4 separate regions of the Homo sapiens genome follow, and all the other regions are linked to region 1. The links are contacts of gene promoters, found by promoter capture Hi-C in blood cells and fetal thymus (Javierre and others, 2016). All regions are on one chromosome and are shown on one strand. The core of a region is centred on a gene start or on the middle of the fragment in contact, and the rest is flanking DNA. Distances in the headings are between cores, read along the strand shown.

Region 1 (3,402 bases), core at 618-3,117:
AGCTCAAGTTTCTTCTGCCCCACATACATAACTTTCATAAATAACCCAAGTCAGGAGAGAAAGCCCACATTTATATGTGACATGTCATTTGATTGAAATTCCTACCCATTTACTGCACGTGATACACACAGTTGAGTAATATACAATACCTCACGTATTTCCAAATTTGTCATTTGTGGTGCTGGTAGAAATAACATGCATGAAACATATACCATACATTTGAAAAATACACAGCAATAGCTCAATAGATGACACCATCAACCTAGTTGCTCAAGCAGAGATATCCCAGAATCCTGCCTTTCTGCTTTCTGTTACTCCAAGCCATATTGGCTTTTTGTCCATAGCTCCCAGGATAATATTCAGTTCCCTGACCATGGTCTACAAGGCTCAACAGATCTGTTCCTTCTCAACCCGTCAAGCTTCATCTCATACCATATATGCCCCCATAAACTCTACTTAATGCTAGGTTATTTAATATTATGGTTTACTATCTGTCTACTCCTCCAGACTAGACGCTTCAGTGAAGGCATAAACCTTGTTCATCCTTTTCACCATTGTACATCCAGCTCCAAGTCCAGTGCCTGGTACATGGTGGGCGCTCAATAGGCATTTATTAATGGAATGAATGAAGGGGTGGACATCTACAAAGGAAAGACTGGGATATCAGAACACCATGGGCTAAGCAGACAATATCTCTGAGGTAGACAGATTTTAAGATTTTTTTTGAAAGCAGAGGAGTAAAAAATAATGGATGAAAGAAAAATGGACTCTGTAGTTACCCAGCTCAGGCTAACTTGTCTATGTTTAAGACCTTTCAGAGGCCGATCAGTCGCTTCCTCTTCCGTGTTAACAAAGCATCCTGTTCCTGCCTCTATAACCCCCATCCATCACAGAATAAAAAATAACGGATGAAAGAAAAATGAACTCTCTGGAAGGGGACCAGCCTCTGTGTATTTGTTCTCTAGCCTATCTCATTTCTGACAGCAGCTCCTTCCCAAGCTCCTAAACTCCCGGGCCCCACCCCTTTCCCCACCTGACTGGTCACACGTTCACCCCTTCTCTCCATCACCAGCGTCACTGGTTCAGTTTAAGCTCACTTCATCTCTTACCCAAACTCTACAGCCCCCTGGATGGGCTCCTTCCACAGTTTGCCCCCATAGCTGCTCACTGCTGCCAGAGGGGGCATCTCAAAGCTCCGCCTTCCCTGCTCAAAGGCCTCCTGCGACTTCCGGCCCAGCCAGTAGCACCCATAGCCTAAAGGTTCCTCAGTCTCTGAAGTGTGGTTTATCCCTCCAAACTCATCTCCTTTGCCTCGGCACCACCCTGGCCATCTTTCAGACTCTGCACCACATGAGGTCCTCAACCCTTCATGACGCCATGCCTTTGAATAGGCGGCTTCCTCCGCCCAGAGTGCCCTCGATTACACTTTGCCACCCCTTCTCCCCCGGGCCATCTCCTGCTCATTTTTTTCTTTTTTCTTTTTCGAGACAGAGTCTCGATCTCGGCTCACTGCAACCTCCGCCTCCTGGGTTCAAGCGATTCTCCTGCCTCAGCCTCCCGAGTAGCTGGGATTACAGGCAAGCACCACCACACCCTGCTAATTTTTGTATTTTTAGTAGAGACAGGGTTTTGCCATGTTGGCCAGGCTGGTCTTGAACTCCTGACCTCAAGTGATCCGCCCGCCTCGGCCTCCCAAAGTGCTGGGATCACAGACATGATCCACCGCGCCCGGCCTCCTGCTCATTTTTCAAAACCCAGCTCAAGATAACTTCTCTGTGAAGTCCTTTCCGAGGCTGATCAGTCACTTCCTCTCCTTCCTCTTCCGTGTTACCAAAGCATCCTGTTCCTGCCTCTACAACCCCCATCACAGAAGCATTGTCACTTGTCTTCAGGCATCTTCTCTCCCATGGTGAGCTCCTCTAGGGTACAAACCACTTCTTATTCCTCTTTCTATTCAGAGGACAACAAATGTGCTCATAAAAAGCTCTTAAATGTTCAGCTACTGGAGGGCTGGAAGAGTGAATGAGAAGGGGAAGGAGGAGGGGAATGAGGAGGGGGAAGAAAGAAAGAAGGGACAGGAGCGACAAAAGAGAGGTTTTTCCCTTTAAGACACCTCTGGCAAGAAAGTGCGGGAGCTTAGCAGAGGCCTGGGTGAACCAGGGCCTAAAACCCTGAGGGAGAAGGATCAGGAAAAGGCCACCACGCAGATGCAGCTCTGAAGGCCCTGTATCTTGAGAGACTTGTCACCAACCTCTGAGAGCCACCAATCTCACTGTGGGATGATGGTGGGGCCCTGAATGCTCAGACCAGTGGCCTTTTCTGGAAAAAATGCAGGAAAAAAAAAAAAAAAAGGGTGTGGGGAGGAGAGTCTAGCTAAATCATGTGGTCACAGTAAAGGCAAGTTCCAAGTCAACCCATTTAACTGAATTTTGCTCCTACTTTTGAATTCATTATATACAAGTGAAAATTAAAAAAAAGAAAACAAGAACTCTCAGTTGAACAGAGATAAATCTGTGAAAATTATCAATGAGTTCTGTGCTCTACAGCAGGGTCTTTATTTCCCACCCTCAAGAAAAGCCCACCCACTGGGCCCTCCCCCAAAGCAGGAGTTAACCAAAGCCCAAGCTTCATGCTTGGAGGTGTGCATCCATTTCTTTCTTAACTTTCTATTCTAATTTATATTATCTATAAATGCACAAACTTAAACACACATTTTTCTTTTTTATTGTATATAATCTTTCAAACCACCTCAAATCCCTTACTTAAAAAAAGTCTTGTTTAGTCTCTAAAGGACTTAGTAGAGAAATTCTCAACCTCTTAAGTAGCATTTCACCAAGAAATAGCACACTGAAAAACACAAGTTTTAATTCCTATCTTTTCCCCCATCTCTTAACTTGCAATCCTGTGGGACTTGCAATCCTGAAGGCAGCCCATAGGAAGAAGAAAAAAGAGAAGAAAATGACACTGATAATCCACAAAGAGGACTAATACAAATGTAAGTTTCCTTGCTTATTAGCAATTGTTAGGTGATGTTTAGGACAAAAGGGGACCTAAGGTTTTGGTAAATACCCAGGAAGAAACATTCCATTTTGCTTCTGGTTACCAATCTACTACTGAAAAATGACTGAGCTACACTTGACAACTTTCTGGTGCTCACTTTTCTGAGAAAGCTTCTTTCCATGTTCCCCAAATTATTTGATCATAACAGGTACCACCCTCAGTCAGGGAAAACACCTGGAGACTTGGCAAAGCTACCCAGCTCACATTGAATTATGTAAGCCTCAAAGTTTTCATTGTGTAGTCAGTATTGGGAGACCCATTTTAAAGGGAAAAAATGTACTAAGAAGAAATTAGATCATTTATAAATGCACAACTACATTTTAATACAGTAAAATGAGAACT
Region 2 (3,402 bases), core at 530-3,029, 400 kb after region 1:
TGAGATCAAGTCCTGCCTACTAAACTTGATCTCAGGGTTAAAAACATATTCTTCCATTATGTAGAAATCTGAAGGCCTGGGAGATTTACTGTAATTCATAACCAAAAAAAAAAACCACATATAAGCCCATATTCTAAAATATTATCCCTTTTAGTTTATATCAGATTGGAAAACTGTCTTTGTTTTGAATTGAAACATAGGGCATTCTTCCCCCATTATAAAAGATGTATTTCTAACATGCCACCACCATGCAGCCAAAGCTTGAAGGTATCCAGACGTCTTGCATTTACTTGTGCATTCAAGGTTCATTCAGGTGGTTTAATGTGAAGCTAAAATGTCTGGTCCTACATTCATCTTCAGGAATGAGATGATTTTAATTTCATGGTGCAGAAATAAGGCCAAATAAGAAAAAGCAGACCTAAAAAATGTTAAGTGTTTAACTTACTAATCCACTAGATCCTTGAGAGCAATTTTAGATTAAAATGGTCCAGAGGACAAAGTGCATAATTAATGATGAGAAAATGATTCCTTCAAGTCCCACAATAAGGAGTTCTGCCTGCGTTAACCATTTGTCTAGAGTTTTATTTATGCAAAAGTGGCAGTTACTTCTTGGTTCTGTCTCCTTCATTCCAGTACTGTTCAGTCTGCATTTCCGTGAGTCGGGAAATTGTGCGCTGAAATGCAAAGATTTCCTCTTCTCCGGTAAACATGGAGAGTCCTTCTGCTGAATCCTGGTTATAAAACAAAGAAATTAAAATAAAGCTATCACAAATGAAAATTTACAGAACCTAAGTATAGGTTTAAAAAAACTTTTTAGGCTTACCGGTTTAGATTATGCCTTTTTTTATAACTTTTTTTTTCCATATACAATCTCTTAAATGAGACTAGAGAGTCAACCAATTTAAACTGATAGGCAGTAAACACATCAAATTATCAGAGAGAAAACTTAAAAGGGAAAACTTTCTCCAAAAGTGTACACCAGAAATAAGTAATGGCAAAAAAAAAACCAGTAGTTCTGAGAAGCTAGAAAGAGGCTGGTGTAGGCCTCCAGACAGGGTCCCAGTGCCTAAGGGGGAGGCCCTAAGGACAAACCTCTGGAGAGCGTTTTCCAATCCAACCAATGACTAAAGGAGAGCAAATGCAAATGAGCAGTGGGTCTGGGTTCTGGAGAATGTGCCTGGGATCTAAAAGCCAGGGCTGAAAGGCAGGGCTGTTTTTAGTCTTCAGCTGCTGGGACAACTGATCCCACCATCTAGGACCAAATTGGGAAACTCTGTCTCTGTGAGGCTGGTAACCCCAGACTGGTGATACCAACACAGACTCATGGCCACTAAGTGGGCTTGGAATTTTTCTCTTTCCTTAGGGGTTTGCTAGTATGCTTTTTCAGAGAAAAATTCTAGATTCCTAAGTCCATCTTCTCCACTGATCCATTGTGAACCTTCATGACCCTGAGATCACATTCCCTGATTTCTTCATGCATGATTGGCTCTGTCTGCTGAGCTTATTTTTTCTTGATCCTAGGGGAATTTGAGATAGGGTCTCACTCTGTCACCCAGGCTGGAGTGCAGTGGTGCCATCTTGCCTCACTGCAACCTCTGCCTTTTGGGTTCAAGTGATCTTCCTGCCTCAGCCTCCCCAGTAGCTAGGATTACAGGTGTGTGCCACCACACCCAGCTAATTTTTTTTATTTTATTTTTTATTTTTTGTAGAAATGGGTGTTTCACCATGTTGCCCAGGCTGGTCTTGAACTCCTGAGCTCAAAGCAGTCTGCCCACCTCGGCCTCCCAAAGTGCTAGGATTGTAGGAATGACCCATTGCACCAGCCTAGGGGAAAAAAGTTTTAAGAGCCAATGATGTAAACTTTACCAACCTTTTGGCACCAGGGGCCAGTTTCGTGGAAGACAATTTTTCCATGGACCAGGGGCAGGGGGATGGTTTCAGGATGAAACTGTTCTAGGTTAGAGCTGAATGTTTATGTACATCCAAAATTCATATGCTGAAATCCTAACCCATAAGGTGATGGTATTGGAGGCGGAGCTTTTGGGAGATGATTAGGTCTTGTGGGTGGAGCCCTCATGAATGGGATTAATGCCTTTATAAAACATGCCCCAGAGAGATCCCTCACCCCTTCCACCATGTGAGGTTTATACAGAAAAGACAGAGGCTTAGGAACTAGGAAGTGGGCCTTCATCAGATGCCAAATCTGGCACCCTGATCTTGGACTTCCCAGCCTCCAGAACTGTTAGAAATAAATTTCTGTTGTCTGTAAGCTACCCAGTTCATGGTGTTTTGTTATAGCAGACTAAGACATACACATAGGTTTAAGTCATCATATTGGAAAGTTCACTTTTTAAATTGGCCTCGTTCTCCCAAACTCCTGAAAATGCCTCATTTCTATTCAGGTTGATAAGGAATTGTTTCCTTGTTCCAGAGGTCTTTCACCTGTGGGGCTGGAAGAATTGGGCTCCCCTCATGGGGTGAGTGTTGATAGTTGTAAACTTTTGACTAATATTTCAGTTGTCGATAGTTGAGAAACACATCTCATAACGTTCTTATAGAAGAAGAAAACGCAAAGTCACTTCTAGTTGGCCTGGGGTGAATCACCAGACTCCAAGCTCCAGGAGAACTGGACTAGCATCTGTTTGTTCCCTACAGAGTGTCCTCAGAGCCTGGCACCCACAGGTACTCCATAAATGTTTGCAGAATGGAGGTTGAGAGATTAGTTAGGGATTTCTTTTCAAGCCTGGGGCCTTGCTAGGCACTCCATGGTCCTGGACTAGCCAGCCTACATGCTTGGATACTGTATCATGCACTCTACAAATCCAGCAATCATTTAGAAAGATACCCAGAAAGGGCAGCATGGTATAGCAGAGCAAGCCCAGAACCGGGCACAGGTGGTTTGGCATCCAGCTCTGGCCTGCCATTATTCAGCAGTGTGACTGTGGGCACCTTAGTCCACCTCCGTGGGCTTCATTTTTATCACATGCAAAATGGAGCACTGAACTACATGACCACTAAGGTTCCTTCCACTGTAAGTTTATAATTTTCTATATTCAGTGATATTGAGAATGATAAATTTGCTACATGGGCTTATAGAAGAAGCGCCAATCAATGGTTAACTATACACTGCATTTCTTCTTCAAAATGTAGCCATGCATCAAACCAAAAACAATTAAGCTGTTTTATAATAAAAAGAGATTATGTTAATATCGCCTACCTGGCTCAGCCCCAAATCATCCATCAGTATTCTGCTTTGCTCCAACTCACTGTCATGATGTTGATGCAAAAATAAGCTTGATATAGGAGTCGACGCAGAGCAAATTATACGCACCTGAAATAGAAGAAAATGGGTAAATGTGTTACTCTTTACATTTCACAAGTTGAAGGTAAGAAAAATCTCAC
Region 3 (3,402 bases), core at 452-2,951, 380 kb after region 1:
CCAAGTCTATTCAGGTCAGAATGAGTGCTTCCACATCATCTCTGCTAAGGGACAGGCATCACTCTCATTTGCAGGTGGGAGAGCGAGGCTGGAGGGTCAGACTTGGTTAGAGCAAGGCTGAAATCTCACCTACAGCTCCTGGCTCCAAATCTGTCCCTCCCAGAACCATTCTTACCAAGAAAATATCTTTCTCCGTTGACTCTGGTACCTGTCATGGGGCAACTTTTTCTGGTGAGTGTAACTCAGTGGGTGTCATTGTCTTACTTAGCTAAAGAATGACATCAGGATTGGAAGCATGTTTAGAGATCACCCCAAGGTTCACAGCTACCACAGTACCAGGGCACTTCATGTGTTCCTTGTGGGTGGTGGTGGTCAGACACACATGGTGCACTGATGCCATTCTTCCTAGAAAAACATCTGTCATCTGTGGCACACAGGGCACTTTGCTCATTTTATCTCTCAGCGGACTTATCACAGTGAGGCAGGTCACAACCAGAACCCCTATTTTGCAGATGCAGAAAGAAAAGGCAGAGGGAAGGAGAAGCAGAAACACACTGTCCCTTCCTATGGGTACATTCACTATCAAATTACACAGCATCTACTTGCTTTGGCCAGCACCTGGTATTGCTTTACAGAGAGTTATGGAAAACAAAAAGTATTTCTGTACATAGTCACTTACCCAGAAAAGCAAGCTGGCCAGGTGCTGGCTGGTTGTGGTTTCTTTAAGTTGGAGCAGAAGGGCTTTGCCTGAATTTCCTGATCTCCTCCCGCCATCTGGTGGCTGTGAGCTGAGCATACATGCAAATTTCAATCTTCATTTCCTGTACTCCTTACTTCAAACTCCCATGCTCCGTGATCTTCTGAGGTTTGATGAGGGAAGGAGGAAAGGGAGAAAGGTGAAGATAAAGGGAGAGGGGAGAGAGGAAAGGGAAAAGAGAGAAGGAGGGAGAGGGAGGAGAAAGAGGAGGAAAAGGAGGAGAGAAAATGTAAAAGGCATGTACCTGTGGCTTTCATTGTATGTTCTTCCTTAGGTCCCCTCACCCTCCATTCAGCTACAGAGAACCGTCAGCGTGTGGTGGAGACAAGCCATTCAGTTGCATTGACATTTTGTGGAGTGCCTATACTGGCTGTTGGACACTGCGCTAAGGGTTGGTCTGCAAAGTGGGCACTTAAAAGATCCACTGCTCTAGAGTAGTTTATCAACATTCATTTTAGACGGTATTTTATTATCGTGAAAAGCAAGGTACTGTTTCAACACACAGCAGTCTTTCACAGGGCACTTTTTCATTTTGATAAAGTCCAATTAATCAGTTTTTCCTTGTATGGGTTGTGTTTTAAATGTCAAGTCTAAGAACTCTTTGCCTAGTCATAGATCCTGAATATATTCTTCTATTTTTTCCTCAACAATTACACTTTACATTTAAGTATGTGATTGATTTTTAAGTTAAATTCTGTATGAGATATGAGTTCCAGGTAGAGATTTGTTTACTTTTTGTTGATAGCTATGTTTATCCAGTTGTCCCAGCACCACTTGTTGAAAAGCCTATCCTTCTCCTATTGAACTGCTTTTACAACTTTCTAAAAATCAGTTGGACATATCTGTGTAGGTCTATTTTCCAGTTCTCTATTCTGCTCCATTAATCTCTGTGACCATCCCTTCACCAAAACCACACAGTCTTGATTACTATAGTTATAAGTCTTAAAATTGGGTAGAGTGATTACTCTCACTTTATTTTTATTTTTCAATAGTTTTACCTTTTTTAGCTTTTTGTTTGCTTTTCTATATAATTTTTATTTTTCTTTTAAGATGGCATCTTGCTCTGTTACTCAGGCTGAAGTACAGCTTCATGATTATAGCTCAGCGCAGCCTCAAACACCCAGGCTCAAGTGATCCTCCTCCCTCAGCCTCCCGAGGAGCTGGGACTGCAGGCATGTGCCAATATGGTAGACTAATTTTAAAAAAAAATTTTGTAGAGATGGGGGTCTTACTAAGTTGTCCAAGCTAGTCTCAAACTCCTGGCTTCAAATGATCCTCCCACCTTGGCCTCCCAACTATGTAAATTTTATAATAATCTTGTCCAGATATATAAACAATCTTGCTGGGATTTTGATAGGAATTGCATTAATTTTATATATCAATTTTGGAATTGTCATCTCTGCTATATTGAGTCTTCTATTCTATTTTTTAAATTATTTTATTTTATTTTTTGAGGCAAGGACTTGTTCTGTTGCCCAGGCTGGAGTGCAGTGGCACAATAACAGCTCACTGCAGCCTTGACCTCCCAGGCTCGAGGAATCCTCCTACCTCAGCCTCCAGAGCAGCTGGGAATACAGGCACATGCCACCATGCCCAGCTAATTTAAAAAATATATTTTTTTTTGTAGAAATGGAGGTCTCTGTATGTTGTGCAGGCTGGTCTTGAACTCCTGGGCTCAAGTGATCCTCCTGCCTCAGCTCCCCATAGTACTGAGATTACAGGATTACAGATGCCCAGCCAAGTCTTCTAATCTATAAATATAAGTATGTCTTTCCATTCATTTAGATCTTTTATGATTAGTATTTTATAGTTTTCAGCATACGAATCATGTACATGTTTTGTTAGATTTGGACCAAAGTACTTTTTCTTTTTCTATTTTTGGCAATTGTAAATGGTATCATATTTTTAAGTTGAGTATCCATGTATTCATTGTCAATATATAGAAAGACACTTAACTTTTGTATGTCTATCTTGTATCCTATGACTTTGCTGAATTTATTAGTTTTAGAAACTTTTTGTAGACTTTTTTCAATTTCCTACATAGACAATAATAGCACTTGCAAATAGGGATAGGTTTTTTATTTTTGTTCTTTCTTTCTGATCTGTTTGTGTTTTCTTGCCTTATTGCACAAGCTAGGACCTCAACTCTACTATACTGAATAACAGTTAAGAGAATAGACATCCTTGCCTTCATCTGGGTCTTAGATTGGACCAGCCCTGCATCCTGAAATACACTGTTCTTGATGATGGTGTATAATTATTTTTATATATTGCTAAATTATATTTGCTAATATTTTGCTGAGGATTTTTGTATCTACACTAATGAGGGATATTGATCTTTGGCTTTATTTTTTCATACTGTCTTTGGTTTGTGTATCATAGTAATTCTAGCTTCATAAAATGAATTGAGAAGTGTTACCTCTGGAAGAGACTGAGATTTTCTGAAAGACATTGAGTAGAACTTGGTGTTACTTCTTTTTTGAACATTTGATAGGATTCTCTAGTGAGATCACCTGGGATTGGAGACTTCTTTTTTTGGAAGGTTTTTAGTTAGTGATTTAATTTCCCTAATAGTTATAGGGCTATTCAAATTATCTGTTTCATATTTGGTGAGTTTCAGTGGTTTGTGCTTTTCAAGGAATAAA
Region 4 (3,402 bases), core at 562-3,061, 360 kb after region 1:
AACGGTAGAGAGTCTCTCTTCGGGTTCATTTACAGGTAGAAGCCATTACGGCCCGGCCCAGCCCCCAAACCTCCTCCCAAACGCCAGAGTGAATGAAGCGCAGGCCCCGCGTCCCCCACACCAGAGCCCTTCCCTCAAACAGTGCCTGAATCCAGGCCTCGGCGGGAGCAGCGGGTGCAGCCAGTCTGGATTGAGGTGGCCAGACCGGCCGGTTCGAGGCCCCAGAACATTTCAGAAGCAGCTAGTCAGAAGCAGGTTTACTGGAGCGACATCTCCGAGAAGAAAAGGTATCAATATAGGCAAGGAAAGGAAGCCGTCCAGGAAAAGGTTTGCAACCACTGCTTTTTCTAATCGGATCGATGTGCCTGTAGGTGTTAACACCCACAAGCTGAAACTTGGACCCGAAGGTTCTCATTCAGCTAGTGACGACGCAACATGCTCCTGCGACAGACTGGAAACCACACATCCAACCCCTCCTCCAGACACTGCGTCCCAAACACCCCCACACCTCTCACTCCAGCCACAGCGCCCGCACCAGACCCCCACTACGGTAAACTCTACTCCAAAGTTGGCTGCGGACCTACCTCCTCGGTGCTGTCCGGAGAATCCAGCAAATGTACTCCTGTCCGTTCGCCCTTCCCTCGCCGGCGTCCCCTGCCCCCTCTCCTCACCTGGCCATGCCCCAAGCTTCTGGGGAGCCTCATTCACCCCTCCGAGACCGTCCCCAGGTGCCCCGACTCCGGGGATCAAAGATAACCCCCAAAGCCTCGCAGCGGAGGCTCCCCCTGCCAACCCCTTGCCCTGGAGCCCGCAAGCGCACTCCGACGAATCCGAGACGCGTCTCGCGCTGCGCAGGAGGCCCGGCGGGTCCTGCTGCCAGCCCGGGGTGGGTACGCACCTTCCAGCCGGCAGAGCTGTTGCTGTCGCCCTTATCCTTGAAGTAGGGCACGCAACGCACCATCCACTCGTAGATCTGGGACAGAGTGAGCCGTTTGTCCGGGGAGCTCTCGATGGCGCGGGTGATCAGGTCCGCGTAGGACAGGTTTCCCCAGGCGTTCCGCCGCGACGAACATTTCCTCGGCTGCCCGGAGCCCCCAGCCGCCCCCGGCTGCGGCGGTGGCAGCGGTTGCTGAGGCTGCAGCAGCGCCTGTGTACCCCCGCTCAGCCCGCCCGCCGCGGTGGCTGGCCCAGACCCGGGGTCTTGCCCTCCGGGTGCCAGCACCCGGGCCGAGTCCTCAAGGAGCAGCCCGGAGCCCAGCGTGCCGCTCCCGCCGCCGCCGCCGATCGCCATGGCCGAGCCGGCCCGTCCCCCGCCGTCCTCGTCGTCTTCATCGTCCTCCTCCTCGGGGATCATGGAGTCGGCGGCCGTCTCCCCCGAGGGCTTGGCAGGGCTCGCTTGGAGCTCCGGCCTTTGCAGGGGCCACGTACAGGATCGCGGACGGCTCTGGGGCTCGAACTCCGGGTCCAGCTCCACTTCGAGCGGAGAGAGCGGGGCCGGGGAAGCCGGTGCCTCTGCCATCTTCGCCGCCCGCCCGCCCGCGGCTGGGGCTCTCGCGCTCTCCTCTCGCGCCGGGGCGGGGTGCAGCGGGGGAGGGACGTGGACGCCGCGAAGGCTCCGGCTCCCGGGCGCCGCCGCCGCCGCCTGGGGAAGCACCAAAGAAGAGAGAAGGAGAGTTGGTTATCCCGGGCCGGAGCCCCGTCCTCGGCGAGTCCTCGCCCGCTGCCGCCACCTCCCAGTCCTGCCGCGCCCGCCTCCCAGGAACAGGAGGACCTGAAGACGTGCGGCCAGCGAACCTGGCGCAGCAGACACCGCCCCCCGGCCAGGCCGCGATGGAGCCGCGAGCGAATCGACGGCCTCGCGCGGGGCAGCCCCCTCCCCCCGCCGCCCAGCCGCAGGTCCCTCCCGGGCTAGGCGGCGGGGCGGGGAGAAGGGGGAGGGGCGCCCGGGGGAGGGGCGGCCGCGCCTTTAAAGCGGGCAGCGGCCGGAGCTGGCGCAGCCGAGCCGCGGTCAGAGCCCGAGCTCGGGTGTGCGTGCGTTTGTTTATGTTTCGCTCGGGCCCGCTCTAGTGCCTCCCGCGGCGCCGCCGCTCAAGTCTGTGCTGTCTTCGGCTCTTCTCCCCTTTCCTAGCCTGGCCGCCTCCGCGACCCCCCGTCACCCCCCACCCGGTCGAATGGCCCGAGCCCGGGGACTGCGCGGGCAGCTCCCTCTCCCCTCTTCGCCCGCGGGCCAGAGGGCGAACGGGGGTCTGGGCGCAGATGGGCCCTTGTCACTTCCAAAAAATAAAGGAAAGACAGAAAGAAGGGGGAGCAGCAGCCCAGCGGGTGTTCGCAGAGGTTCGAGCCCGGCGGGGACGGCCACTTCGGGGTTTTGTGTGGTTTGCATTCTCGCGGACGTCGTCCCCTCCGCCCCCTTCCCAGTCGGGATCCGGGGGAGGGAGCGAGTCGGAACATAAATCTTCCAACAGGTCGGGAAGCGCCAAGTCTCCCGGGCTGCTAGAAAACCCGGACCAGCACGTTCATCACCTCCTTGCTCCCGCTGCTGCCATCTTGACAGTTTCCCCCTTCCCGAGTCCTTTAAAAACACTAGCGGGCGAGAAGGGGGGCGCGCACACCGCGGCTCAGGGAGGGGAAAGGGAAGCGCCCGGCCCAGCTCGGAAGCAGATCCGGAGTCACCGGGAAGGCGGCCGCCCGCTGCACGGCTCCGGCGCCTACCTCGCTTCCTTCCCTTCAGGGACGCGGCGGGACGACGCACGATCCCGCGCGGGCCCGGGGCACGGCGAGGAGGGGGCGCGCAACCTCGGCGAAGGAGAAGCGCTCGGGCCGTCGCCGCAGCCCGCCCGAGGAACCGCCTGTCAGCTCGCGCGCCGCCACCTTCCACATTCCTCCTCCTCCCTTCCACGAGCAGGGCGGCCGCGGCAGCAGCACAAAGTTATAGACACACGCAGGGCGCCTCAACCTAGGCTGACGGCGGGCGGGTCCCCGCCCAGGGGGAGGGCTGGGCGGCGGGCTGGGCGGCGGGCCGGGCGCGCGGCGGGCGTGCGTGTGTGAGTGCGCGTGTGTGAGCTCGCGCGCGCCTGCGCGGCCCGGCTCCGCGGGGCTGCGGGCGTGGGTGTCCGGGCGCGCGCCGTGGGCCGGGACTCGGCGGGCTCCCGCTGCTGTCCCCGCTGGGCTCCTCCTCCCTCCCGAGAGTCTCAACGACAACAAAGCGCGGCGCTGGCCCGGGAGAGGAGGGAGAAGGGGGGAGAAGGGAGGAGAGGAGGAAGAAGTGGGGAGAGGAGGGAGAAGGGGGAGCGGCAGGAGCGCACAGCCCCCGACGCTCCAAGGAGCGCAGCGGCGTGGCCTCCCTGACTCCGGGCAGGGCGCCTGGTACCAGGGGGTCCCTGGCCTGCGCGTCCGCCCGCC

The links. The method cuts DNA at HindIII sites, captures the fragments that hold promoters and counts their contacts. A CHiCAGO score of 5 or more calls a contact.
Region 2: a fragment that was not itself captured here is called in contact with the fragment with the promoter of ARMC2-AS1 in region 1 in 1 of 17 cell types (M1 macrophages); the score reaches 5.2 in M1 macrophages.
Region 3: a fragment that was not itself captured here is called in contact with the fragment with the promoter of ARMC2-AS1 in region 1 in 6 of 17 cell types (activated CD4 T cells, total CD8 T cells, monocytes and 3 more); the score reaches 6.7 in activated CD4 T cells.
Region 4: the fragment with the promoter of FOXO3 here is called in contact with the fragment with the promoter of ARMC2-AS1 in region 1 in 17 of 17 cell types (activated CD4 T cells, naive CD8 T cells, non-activated CD4 T cells and 14 more); the score reaches 28.1 in activated CD4 T cells.

What each region holds. Positions count from the first base shown.
Region 1 is chr6:108,922,568-108,925,969 of GRCh38, reverse strand. ARMC2-AS1 (ARMC2 antisense RNA 1) reads left to right here and starts at 1,867. Exons shown (of 3, transcript NR_104137.1): 1 at 1,867-1,909; 2 at 2,926-2,995. All of the region lies in intron 10 of ARMC2 (armadillo repeat containing 2), which reads right to left. The HindIII fragment of the contact is 2,206 bases long and covers 422-2,627 here.
Region 2 is chr6:108,519,626-108,523,027 of GRCh38, reverse strand. AFG1L (AFG1 like ATPase) reads right to left here. Exons shown (of 13, transcript NM_145315.5): 12 at 3,218-3,331; 13 at 1-731. The coding sequence ends at 603. Among named protein-coding and RNA genes, the nearest start is that of FOXO3, 40 kb to the left of the region's middle. The HindIII fragment of the contact is 3,033 bases long and covers 263-3,295 here.
Region 3 is chr6:108,539,554-108,542,955 of GRCh38, reverse strand. No RefSeq gene overlaps it. Among named protein-coding and RNA genes, the nearest start is that of FOXO3, 20 kb to the left of the region's middle. The HindIII fragment of the contact is 6,005 bases long and covers 1-3,402 here.
Region 4 is chr6:108,559,326-108,562,727 of GRCh38, reverse strand. FOXO3 (forkhead box O3) reads right to left here and starts at 1,811. Exons shown (of 3, transcript NM_001455.4): 1 at 899-1,811. The coding sequence starts at 1,519. RefSeq lists enhancers at 1-22, 834-1,334 and silencers at 1,778-1,997, 2,977-3,046, 3,087-3,402. The HindIII fragment of the contact is 5,662 bases long and covers 690-3,402 here.